Linked DNA regions of Homo sapiens: region 1 is linked to region 2. Evidence: promoter capture Hi-C in 16 types of primary human blood cells and fetal thymus (Javierre and others, 2016). All regions are on one chromosome and are shown on one strand. The core of a region is centred on a gene start or on the middle of the fragment in contact, and the rest is flanking DNA. Distances in the headings are between cores, read along the strand shown. Region 1 overlaps NDUFV2 (NADH:ubiquinone oxidoreductase core subunit V2). Region 2 holds the start of LPIN2 (lipin 2).

Region 1 (4,760 bases), core at 283-2,782, 6.1 Mb after region 2:
ATTCCACCACTTTGGGGAGCTGAGGCGGGCAGATCACTTGACATCGAGAGTTCAAGACCAGCCTGACCAACATGGAGAAACCCCGTCTCTACTAAAAATACAAAAAATTATCCAGACGTAGTGGCACATGCCTGTAATCTCAGCTACTTGGGAGGCTGAGGTAGGAGAATCGCTTGAACCCGGGAGGCAGAGGTTGTGGTGAGCCGAGATCATGCCATTGAACTCCAGCCTGGGCAACAAGAGCGAAACTCCGTCTCCAAAAAAAAAAAAAGACACTTATTTAGGCTTTCCATATATCATGGTAATTTGCTTTCTAAAAGGCTATATGAATTTTTAAGTGTGCTTGTTTCTCTATATGCTCAACAGAATGGAATGCTATCTTAAAAGAAAAAAGATACTTGGTAGTTTGATAACTAGTAATGTTATTTTAAGTTGTATGTTTTTAGTTACTAGTAAGCAGTTTGAATTCTGTGAAACTTTTGTTCATGATCTTTACTCATTTTTTAAGTGCATTTATGATCTCTTCAGGCTATTAGCCTCTTGTCATCAAATGTGTGTAAGATTTAAGACTCATCACTGTCAAGTTAATGGATGAGTTCTCAGAGGCAAAGGCTTTATAGAGAAAAGAAGATAGGAGTGTGAACTGAGCCCTGAGGACAGCCTGCAAGGAGTGGATAAAAAGCCAATAAACAGAAAATGTTAGTGTTCAGAAATTAGGAGAAGACTGAATACTTTCCCTACTCTTAAAATTAATCCTTTTATTATAAGTATACAGTCTTTTCTCTCAGAATTTAGTTAAGTAACTCACTGATGTTACTCAAAAATTGTTACTCGATTAAAAAAATTTTCTGAGCTAAGATGACAGTGACTGTCTTCTAAATTTTAGTTTCAGTTAATTTTTCAAAACAAAACCAACACAATCAAAGCCCCCTTGTGCACCTCTGACTGTATCCCTCCCTGCCTTCCAATTATCCTGAAATTGATATTTATCACTCCCATCTTTTGTACGTGTGTCTCACATCCTGTACCTTAGTCTTTTCTTGTTAATTAAAGCAGATGTTCCATGTAAACTTATTTATTAATATTTCTTCAACTGAAATATCATTTGGACCTAGGGTAAAGTTAAATATACTATTGTGTTATATTACTCCGTTTACTTTCTTCTATGTTTGCCTTTGAATTGTCCAACTCTTTGCTAGTTCCATGCTTGGTTTAACCCAGCCAGTGTTCTGCCGTCTGTGGTTAGTAGAACTCAGAAATTGGAGGAATCCAGAACAGTAGTTGAAATACTTGGGGGCGGGGGACAGGGTAGGAGTGGAGGGTAGGAGCAAGAGGGCAAAGAGAAATGAAATGCAGCTGAGAGAATAATCAGATTCCTTCCAAAGCAACTGAACATTGTCAGTCCGCATAGCATCATAAATAGCTTTCTGAAACTACTTTTTTTTTTTTTTTTGAGACGGAGCCTTGCTCTGCTGCTCAGGCTGGAGTGCGGTGGCGCGATCTCGGCTCACTGCAACCTCTGCCTCCCAGGTTCAGGCGATTCTCCTGCCTAAGCCTCCCGAGTAGCTGGGACTACCAGCGTGCGCCACCACGCCCAGCTAATTTTTGTGTTCTTAGTAGAGATGGGGTTTTACCATGTTGGCCAGGATGGTCTCGATCTCTTGACCTCGTGATCTCCTTGCCTTAGCCTCCCAAAGTGCTGGGATTACAGGCATGAACCACCACACCCGGCCAGAAACTACTTTTTACGGCTGGAGTTTCAGAACTAATTTAGTAAAGGATTGAAAAGGAAGGAGGATACAGTTGACTCATTTGTACAGAGTATATGACTCATTTGTACAGAATGAAAACATGTTTATGAAGGTTCACACTAAGTGAAAGCTGGCATCCAAGTTGATTCAGACAAAAGTGAAAGTCAAGAAGTTAATAGTACATTAATTCTCCAAATGCATGCCAGCAGAGCGTGGCAGGAAGGTACACAAGTCAGCAGATCTGGGTTGTCCTGGTTCTCCTATTGACTCGTGTGTGTGATGTTAGGTGGGTGAATCTTGGCTTTGAATCTCCATTTGTAAAATAACTCTCCTGAAATAGAGATGGATAGGGTAGAATACCATATTTCTTAAGATCTTTTATAAGTTGATTCCATTGTTGTAAATTATGAATCCTAAAGTATTTCTTTATGAAAAATTTTTTAAGGCTATGATTTACTAAACTTTCTTAAAATTTTAAATTTTAGGGAAGACATGTAAGGAATTTGCATAAGACAGTTATGCAAAATGGAGCTGGAGGAGCTTTATTTGTGGTAAGTAATTACTTAGATTTCTTTGGAAAGAAAAGACTTGGAAATTGGGGTAAATCCATTGTAAAAATCCAAAATATCTTAAATACCATTGTCTTTGATATATGATGGTCATCGTGAGAATTTACATACAGCTAATTGAATTTACTACATTTCAAAAGATGTTGGTTCCAGTTGAACCTCATGAGTTTAAATTAGTATCAGGAAAACTCTGGGAATAAGAATTTATTTCCAGTGAAATTACTGTGTGAGCCCTAACCTGATTCTCATCACACTTTGGGTTCTCAGTCATGTTGGCTTACTGAGAGTTTGGAGATTGTAACTTGTTGAATCCCAAAATGACACTAGTTTGAAACTCATGGATTTTAGTAATGTAGTAACTAGATTAGCAGCTGGTCTTTATATTTTTAGTTTCCGGAGTTTTAACTATAAATAGAAGTCTGTGAACTCCCCAGATTAGTTGCACAATTTGGAAAGGATAAGATATTATATCTCCCTTTTCTGACAAGGTGCTGTTTTCAGGGATTAATCTAGTATAAAGGCAATATAGTGGACTTGTGTGATGATTTAGAGTTAGTGGTGTAAGAAGTAGCTTCCTGCTATATATCAAGCATCAAATTGGCCACATATTTGAGATCATTGTCCAGAGTGTCTGTTTTCTTTCCTCTTTTGGCTTATGTCCTTTAAAAAGCAGAACTCCGAGAGTTAACATATCAAGAGATTCATTTCTGTATTCACCACACATACATAACATTAATTGATCGTAAGTGTTAATCTCAGTGTGACTCATTTGATTTCCTGTTGACATGCCATTTCTTGTCAGTTTTTGAAGAGGGCCTGCTTCTGCTCTTTTAAGAAGAGATAAAGCTTCTTGCTGTTGGCTATTATGGAAAACGTGGGAAAGAGATGGTGCTGTTTTTTTTTTTTTTTTTTTTTTTTTAAGATGGTCCTTTTGTACCCTCCTAAAGTAATGGGTCTTAACCCTTTTGGATCCCAGATCCCTTTGACAATCTGATAACCTTGCTTTTGGGAAAATACACATATGTTCACATTTAAAATTTTGTGTTTTAATTTCATAAAGGCTTCCAATAATTGGTAATGTTTTGGTAATTCTATCAGAAGATCTTACTCTCTAATGAAGCTGGATAACACTTTTTGTTGTTTGGGTTTTTTTGGTCCTAAAGGTACTTCTCTTATTCTTTAAATGGTCCTTTGTAAATTTTTAAATTCTGCTAACTTTACTTTGGTAATCATACTTATCAAATGTGTGTTTAGACATTCTTTTTGATGGAAGGATAGGGTGGTATATATCATGTTGGAATTAAAATGGAGAGATTAAACAATAAGTAATAGTATAGTAATGTACAGTGTCATTCACACTTGAGAGAATTTGGATAAGTCTGAAAAACTGTTTTTGTTGTGTAGCACAGAGATACTCCTGAGAATAACCCTGATACTCCATTTGATTTCACACCAGAAAACTATAAGGTATGGCTAAATTAACATTATAATTAATTTACCAAATAGGTAATATTTTCTAGATGTATAAAATGATGTTCTTTCTTTTATACAGAGGATAGAGGCAATTGTAAAAAACTATCCAGAAGGCCATAAAGCAGCAGCTGTTCTTCCAGTCCTGGATTTAGCCCAAAGGCAGAATGGGTGGTTGCCCATCTCTGCTATGAACAAGGTACTGGATTCATTTTTGCCTTAGTTCTAAAAGAGAAGAGATTGTGTATGATAATTTCCTTTTATAGAAATTACTCTGATCATCTCCAGTGTCAGAATCTAGGATTTTGGAGCCCTTTAGCCATTTGTATGTTTCCTTGAATTGTCTTTGTGTTTTTGTTCATTCCCTTAATGCATAGAGGTGATTTCTAACCTTGCAGGAAATAAGGAAGGCATTATGGTGAAAGAGGGTATGTGTTTTTTTTTTTCCTTTTGAAGGAAATGGTCAAAGATAAAAGATTCCAAATGTGTATAACTTAGTGTCAAGATATTCTGAAAATTAATGTAATATTTAAACACTAGAATTACAGAAAAGAAGATCTGCTCACTAGTATGAAAATTTTTAATATTTTACATCTTTGGCTGTAGGCTGTAAGAAAAATCTGTATAATAGGTGATATTTATACAATTTGATTATGCTACTTTGGAATCAACGACCTATAGAAATGCTATGGATGACCCATTTTATTCAAAGTTACTCTATTCATATAATATTCATTTTTCCTAATAGTTTTGAGCAGTAATACAAATTTCAAGTTTATTCGTATCCTGTTAATACAAATAACTACATTTGTGTGGTGATGTATTACAGCATATCATTTATAAAGTGCCATACACAAACCACATACTATTTGATTCTGATGAGAATCACATAACCATTAAGCTGTGTTATATAATGGAAAATATTTTTGACTTAGAACTAAGACACCTGATTTTTCTCTGAACTTCCTCA
Region 2 (5,323 bases), core at 2,068-4,567:
AGACTGAATTGCAGTCAGTGAATCAAATTAGTAAAAATGTTTACTTTATCATCATTTTAATCCTGAAAGTGACATTAAGAGTTTTATCTTGTATTAAAACACAGTTTACCTCCCAACAGATTTTTTTTTCTTCTCCTTCCTTTCTGACTGAGAAGTTGAGCAGAGACAGATGCCCAACCCCAGCTTCCACCAGCTTCCTGCTGAAAATCAAGAGCAAGGCAGCCCACCAAGTGGCCCCGGCAGGATTCTGGCCATTCCCCACTACACATGGGTTGCCACTGACTGCTTCATTTGGACCCCAGGGTGAGCAACTCCCTCACGCTTGTCTTGAAACACACATGTAATAAGCGTTTAGTGTTAGTAATAGTGTGTTACTAAAATGAAGATTCAAGCTGACAGCAGGGGAGGTGGATTCCAAAAATCACAGTTAATTACCAAAGCCGCTAAGCCAAGTTATTCAAATGTCTTATTACCAAGGTATAGCCATAAAACTTACTGCTCCAGGCTATAATACCTTCAAACTCTTCAAGTTTTAAAGACACATTATACATAGGATTCTGCCAACTGGAGGCTATCTACCAACTTGTGAGTTGTTTCATCATGAAGGAGGCAAATGGTAGGTCACGAGACTCTGGGTCTCATTGAGAAGTATAAAAACTTACCAAGCAGTGAAGGGTATTGGAGAGAGAAAAACAGGATTTTAAAATGAAGATTCCAAACCACTGCCTACCAATCTGGCACGGCAAGTCGGGCAAATACACACTCAACGACAGTCACTGGGGTCGGAGTAAAAAGAAATGGATTTAAATTAAAGATGGAAAGACTTAAATCAGACTTAAAGAAAAGCCTCTTGATGTAAATTGCTAAGCACCTACGGGAGATAACCAAATCTACCTGTTACCACTAATCTATCAACTAACAAGACAAAGCCTCCAGCTAGGCGTTACTGTGCTGATATATATTAGGAAATAAGTACCCAAGGCATAGAAAAATCGCTGACACAGAGAACCAAGCCATAATGTAATATTAATAAAAGTAAACATTTGACCCTTTACCACCTCTAACACGTGGCACCACCAGGAATATTCATCCATGCCTCACCATTCAGGGAAGGTAAGTGAGCTCACTCAGGAAGTGCCACCGTCTTCCAGGTCACTGGTAAGGACAAACTGCCTGCTGCGTCTACCTTCATTCAACAGACCTCGACCGAATCGCATCCCAAAGCCGGCTATGTGCTTGGAACTTACTGAGCAGCTATGGAGTTTGGCTTTCAGGAACTCTGGGTCCAGTCCTTAAAACCAAAAGTGCAATACAGGGCGATGAGAACTTCTATTGCTACATTCTCCTAGCAATAAAGAAGACAAAGCCCCAGCTGACTCTATTATTTGCTTCTTAACAGTGCTTTACTATAGTATTAAAGGGTTTTCAAACACTTCATTTCCAGCTTCTCTTAAGCATAATGCGTGCCTATTGACTCTCGACTGTGCCATCAAACGTTAAAACAGAACCTGTCGTTTCATTTCTAGCTTTCTATGGCTACCTCTATCAAAAGTTGGGCATGGAGATACCTTAAGTCTGGCTGGGGCGGTTGCTCACGCCTGTAATCCCAGCTCTTTGGGAGGCCGAGGGGGGCGGATCACCTGAGGTCGGCAGTTCGAGACCAGCCTGGCCAACATGGTGAAACCCCCGGTCTCTAATAAAAATACAAAAATTAGCTGAGTGTGGTGGCTCATGCCTGTAATCCCAGCTACTCGGGAGGCTGGGGCACAAGAATCGCTTTAACAGAGGAGGCAGAGATTGCAGTGATCGGAGATCGCGCAACTACACTCCAGCCTGGGCGACAGAGTGAGACTCTGTCTCGAAATAAAAGAGATACTTCAGTCTGACATACCACAATCAACTACAATGTAATTGGAGGGAAGAGCCGATGTTGGACGGCTATCACACGTGGCTTCACACTGTTCTTTTTCTTCTCTGGCTGGGTACGGCCTGAGGATGACTGCCCTCCAACAACTGAGGATGCTGCAGGAGGACCAGCCCAGCACCTGTCTCCATCCCCTGCACTGTGTGGCCGGCTCTGCCGCTTCTCCCCCGCTTCAGCATCACCTGCCACTTCTTCTCAATCTGAAGCCACTAAGAACGATCAACACCAGACCGTTAAAACATAAACCAGTATGGGCCACTAAATAATTCGTAAATATTTCAAAATGTATTTCAAAACCGACTTTGTATTGTCAAAACATTATAATCTAGCCAGGCCAAGTTTTAATAAACAGTAACACCCATCATCACTACTGGGTAAAGAACTTCATTCAACAGGACCTACCTTGACACCAAGTCTAGAGCCTCGTTTTCAATTAAAAAAAAAATGGGTAAGCCCCAAATGTGCATTAAAAATTAGTTTGGCCATTTACTAAGTAGTCCTTCAAAGCATTTCCAAGTATTCAGAGTTCCAGTACTTTTCGGAAAGGAAGGGTGATCTTTCTGGTACTGGTTTGCATAATTATGCCTAAAAAATGTCATCTTGAATTTTCAATGAAAAGAGTCTTAAAATGTTCAGGCGAGTGGAGAAAATGGTGATCCGCTGGCGTTAGAAGTGGACAGAGAGGCTCTCAGTACAAACTGTATCTGAACGTGTTCCTCACAAATTAAGATCTGCACCGGGGGCTGGGGGGCTTTGAGAAAACTAACCACATTTGAATCCGGTCCACACAGCTTGAAGGCGGAGGTACGGGGCAAAGCGCGGCGGGGAAGAAACACCAGCAACTCGGCGGCCCCCGCCTCGCCGCAGATCACGTGCCCGGCGCCCCCTCCCGCAGGGCCGGGGGCGGGATGGAGACGCGGCCTCCCGCGCGCCTTCCGCACTCCCCTCCGCGCCCCAAACCCAGGGGTAGGGGTGGTCTCGGGTAACCATCCCCAGGGCGGCGGCGAGGGAACTGCGCGGGTTCAGAGTCCTCAGCAGCCACCACTGACGCCCCGACGCCCCCGGCTCCCCGCGCACCCCGCCGGTCCGTCCTGCGGCGGCGGCGGTAGGGGCCGCGTCTACGTGGCGCGGTCGCGGCGAGGCGGGGACTGGGACGCGAGGACCGGGAAGCGGGGACCGCGGCGCGAGGAGGGGCGGCTCAACCCGCGCCGCCCCGGAGGGTCCCGGCCTCCGGCAGGACAGCCCCGGGCCCGCGCCAAGGGAAGCCCCCAGGCGCAGACACTCACCGCCAGCCCCGGAGGGACGCCTGCGAGGAGCCCGGCCCGCGCCCACTTACCCACAGGGGCTCCGCTCCCGGCCAGCGGGCGGCTGAGGGCAGGCGGCGGCTGGACTGCGACGGCTAGGACCCGCCGGGGAGGGAAGCCGAGGGGGCGGGGCCGGTCGGGGGCGCGCGCGGGGTCGGAGCGCCCGCAGCCGCCGCTGCCTTGGAAGCCGCCTGGGCCGCAGCTGAGTCGGGCGGCCCTCATGAATGGGACGCCGCGGCTGCGGCGGCCGAGCCGGCAGCTGGCGGGCGGGCAGCGCGCAGGCCCCGCCCCAGCCACGTGACGCGCGCTCCCGGCCGCGCGCCGCGCCCCCGCCGCCGAGCGCCAGGCGTGCGGCTTCTCACCGCTCCCAGTCCCTGGGCTGCGCGCCCGGGCCCCTGGCCAAGTGAGGGCGGGGCCTCGATTTTCTAGTGCCTCGGGCGACAGGAGCCTTACTTTGTTTTAAAAAAAAAAAGTTTCTTCCGGTCCCCATGGCAACCCTGCGGCAGGTCACGTGGGACTGAGAGCCCAATTGCCAAAAAGGAATGTTAAAGTGCAAAAAAAGTCTAGGGAATGAATGTTTTATAATCCCCTTTTGATCACTAGTAGCACATCTCCTTTGCTTACTTACATCTCCACCGAAAAAAAAAAAATCCTATTACACAACTCATTTTTAAAAATATGCCGGGGTTCTGTTGTTTTTTGTTTATTCTTTTTATCGCTCTGTTACCCCGGCTGGTCTCCAACTCCTGGGCTCAAGCATCCCCGCACCTCGGCCTCCCAAAGTACTGGAATTACAGGCATGAGCCACCGTCCCCAGCATTAAAATATACTTTTTAAGAAATGGGTGGCTCACGCCTGTAATCCTAGCACTTTGGAAGGCCGAGGCAGGCGGATCACTTGAGGTCAGGAGTTCAAGACCAGCCTGGCCAACATGGTGAAACCCCCGTCTCTACTAAAAATACAAAAAACCAGCCGGGCGTGGTGGCGCGTGCCTGTAATCCCAGCTTCTCAGGAGGCTGAGGCAGGAGAATCAGTTGAACCCGGGAGGCGGAGATTGCAGTGAGCCGAGATGGCGCTATTGCACTCCAGCCTGGCGACAGAGAGACTCCGTCTCAGAAAGAAAAGAAATGGGGCCCGGCGCGGTGGCTCACGCCGGTAATCCCAGCACTTTGGGAGGCCAAGGCGGGTCGATCGCCTGAGGTCAGGAGTTGGAGACTAGCCTGGCCAACGTGGCAAAACCCCGCCTCTACTAAAAATACAAAAATTAGCCGGGCATGTTGGCTGCAATCCCAGCTACTTAGGAGGCAGAGGCGGTAGAATCACTTGAACCCGGGGGGCGGAGGTTGCAGTGAGCAGAGATTGCGCCACTTCACTCCAGCCTGGGAGCGAAACTCTGTCTCAAAAAAAAAAAAAACAAAAAAAACTGGATTGCTGGTGCTATATACTATTGGTGCACACTGGTTTTTAATTTGCAGCCTATTCTATTACTATTCTATGATTGAAAGTAATGAACAGAAGCCTATGTTACTTCTATATAAATGGCAGTTAATTTATGAGGTGCATCTTGTGTGTGATCATTTATACAGTTCTAAGGGTACTGAAATAGGCATTTGCATACACAAAGCTGCTCCTTGAAGGATCCAGCTGCAGCCCAGTTTCTTCCCACCAGTGCCTGGTGTAGCTGGGCAGTGCTTGGATTCAGGGAGCAGGCGACCACTTCTTCACTGAAGTTCCTTCTGCTTTTCTGTGAAACTCGATCAAGTTTTGCCCCATCTGTAATCAAGGCCCTACAGAAACATAGGTAGTTTCACTGGCACAAGACCACTAGGAATTTTCCTCATTTCACTGCTTCTCACTTGGCTTCACAAGTAAAATAAAAATTGAAGAGGACTAAAATATCCCCCTCCGTATTCAATGGATTTTATAAATATGGAGAAGAAAAATTAAAGCTAGAGAAAGAATTTAATCCTCAGTTTCTACGTCAGTAAAATAAAGATAGTAGTGTCTTTCTTACAGAATTGTTTTGTGGATTCCCCGTGATAACCTATAAAGTGCCTACGTTAGTGTCTGCAACCTGGAACAGGCTGTTAGCGTT

Evidence for each region. The method cuts DNA at HindIII sites, captures the fragments that hold promoters and counts their contacts. A CHiCAGO score of 5 or more calls a contact.
Region 1: a contact is called between a fragment that was not itself captured here and the fragment with the promoter of LPIN2 in region 2, in 1 of 17 cell types (total CD4 T cells). The highest score is 8.2, in total CD4 T cells.

What each region holds. Positions count from the first base shown.
Region 1 is chr18:9,115,602-9,120,361 of GRCh38, forward strand. NDUFV2 (NADH:ubiquinone oxidoreductase core subunit V2) reads left to right here. Exons shown (of 8, transcript NM_021074.5): 2 at 2,237-2,302; 3 at 3,725-3,787; 4 at 3,873-3,989. Among named protein-coding and RNA genes, the nearest start is that of NDUFV2, 15 kb to the left of the region's middle. The HindIII fragment of the contact is 3,264 bases long and covers 1-3,164 here.
Region 2 is chr18:3,009,827-3,015,149 of GRCh38, forward strand. LPIN2 (lipin 2) reads right to left here and starts at 3,318. Exons shown (of 20, transcript NM_001375808.2): 1 at 3,261-3,318. RefSeq lists a silencer at 2,759-3,708. The HindIII fragment of the contact is 8,581 bases long and covers 1-5,323 here.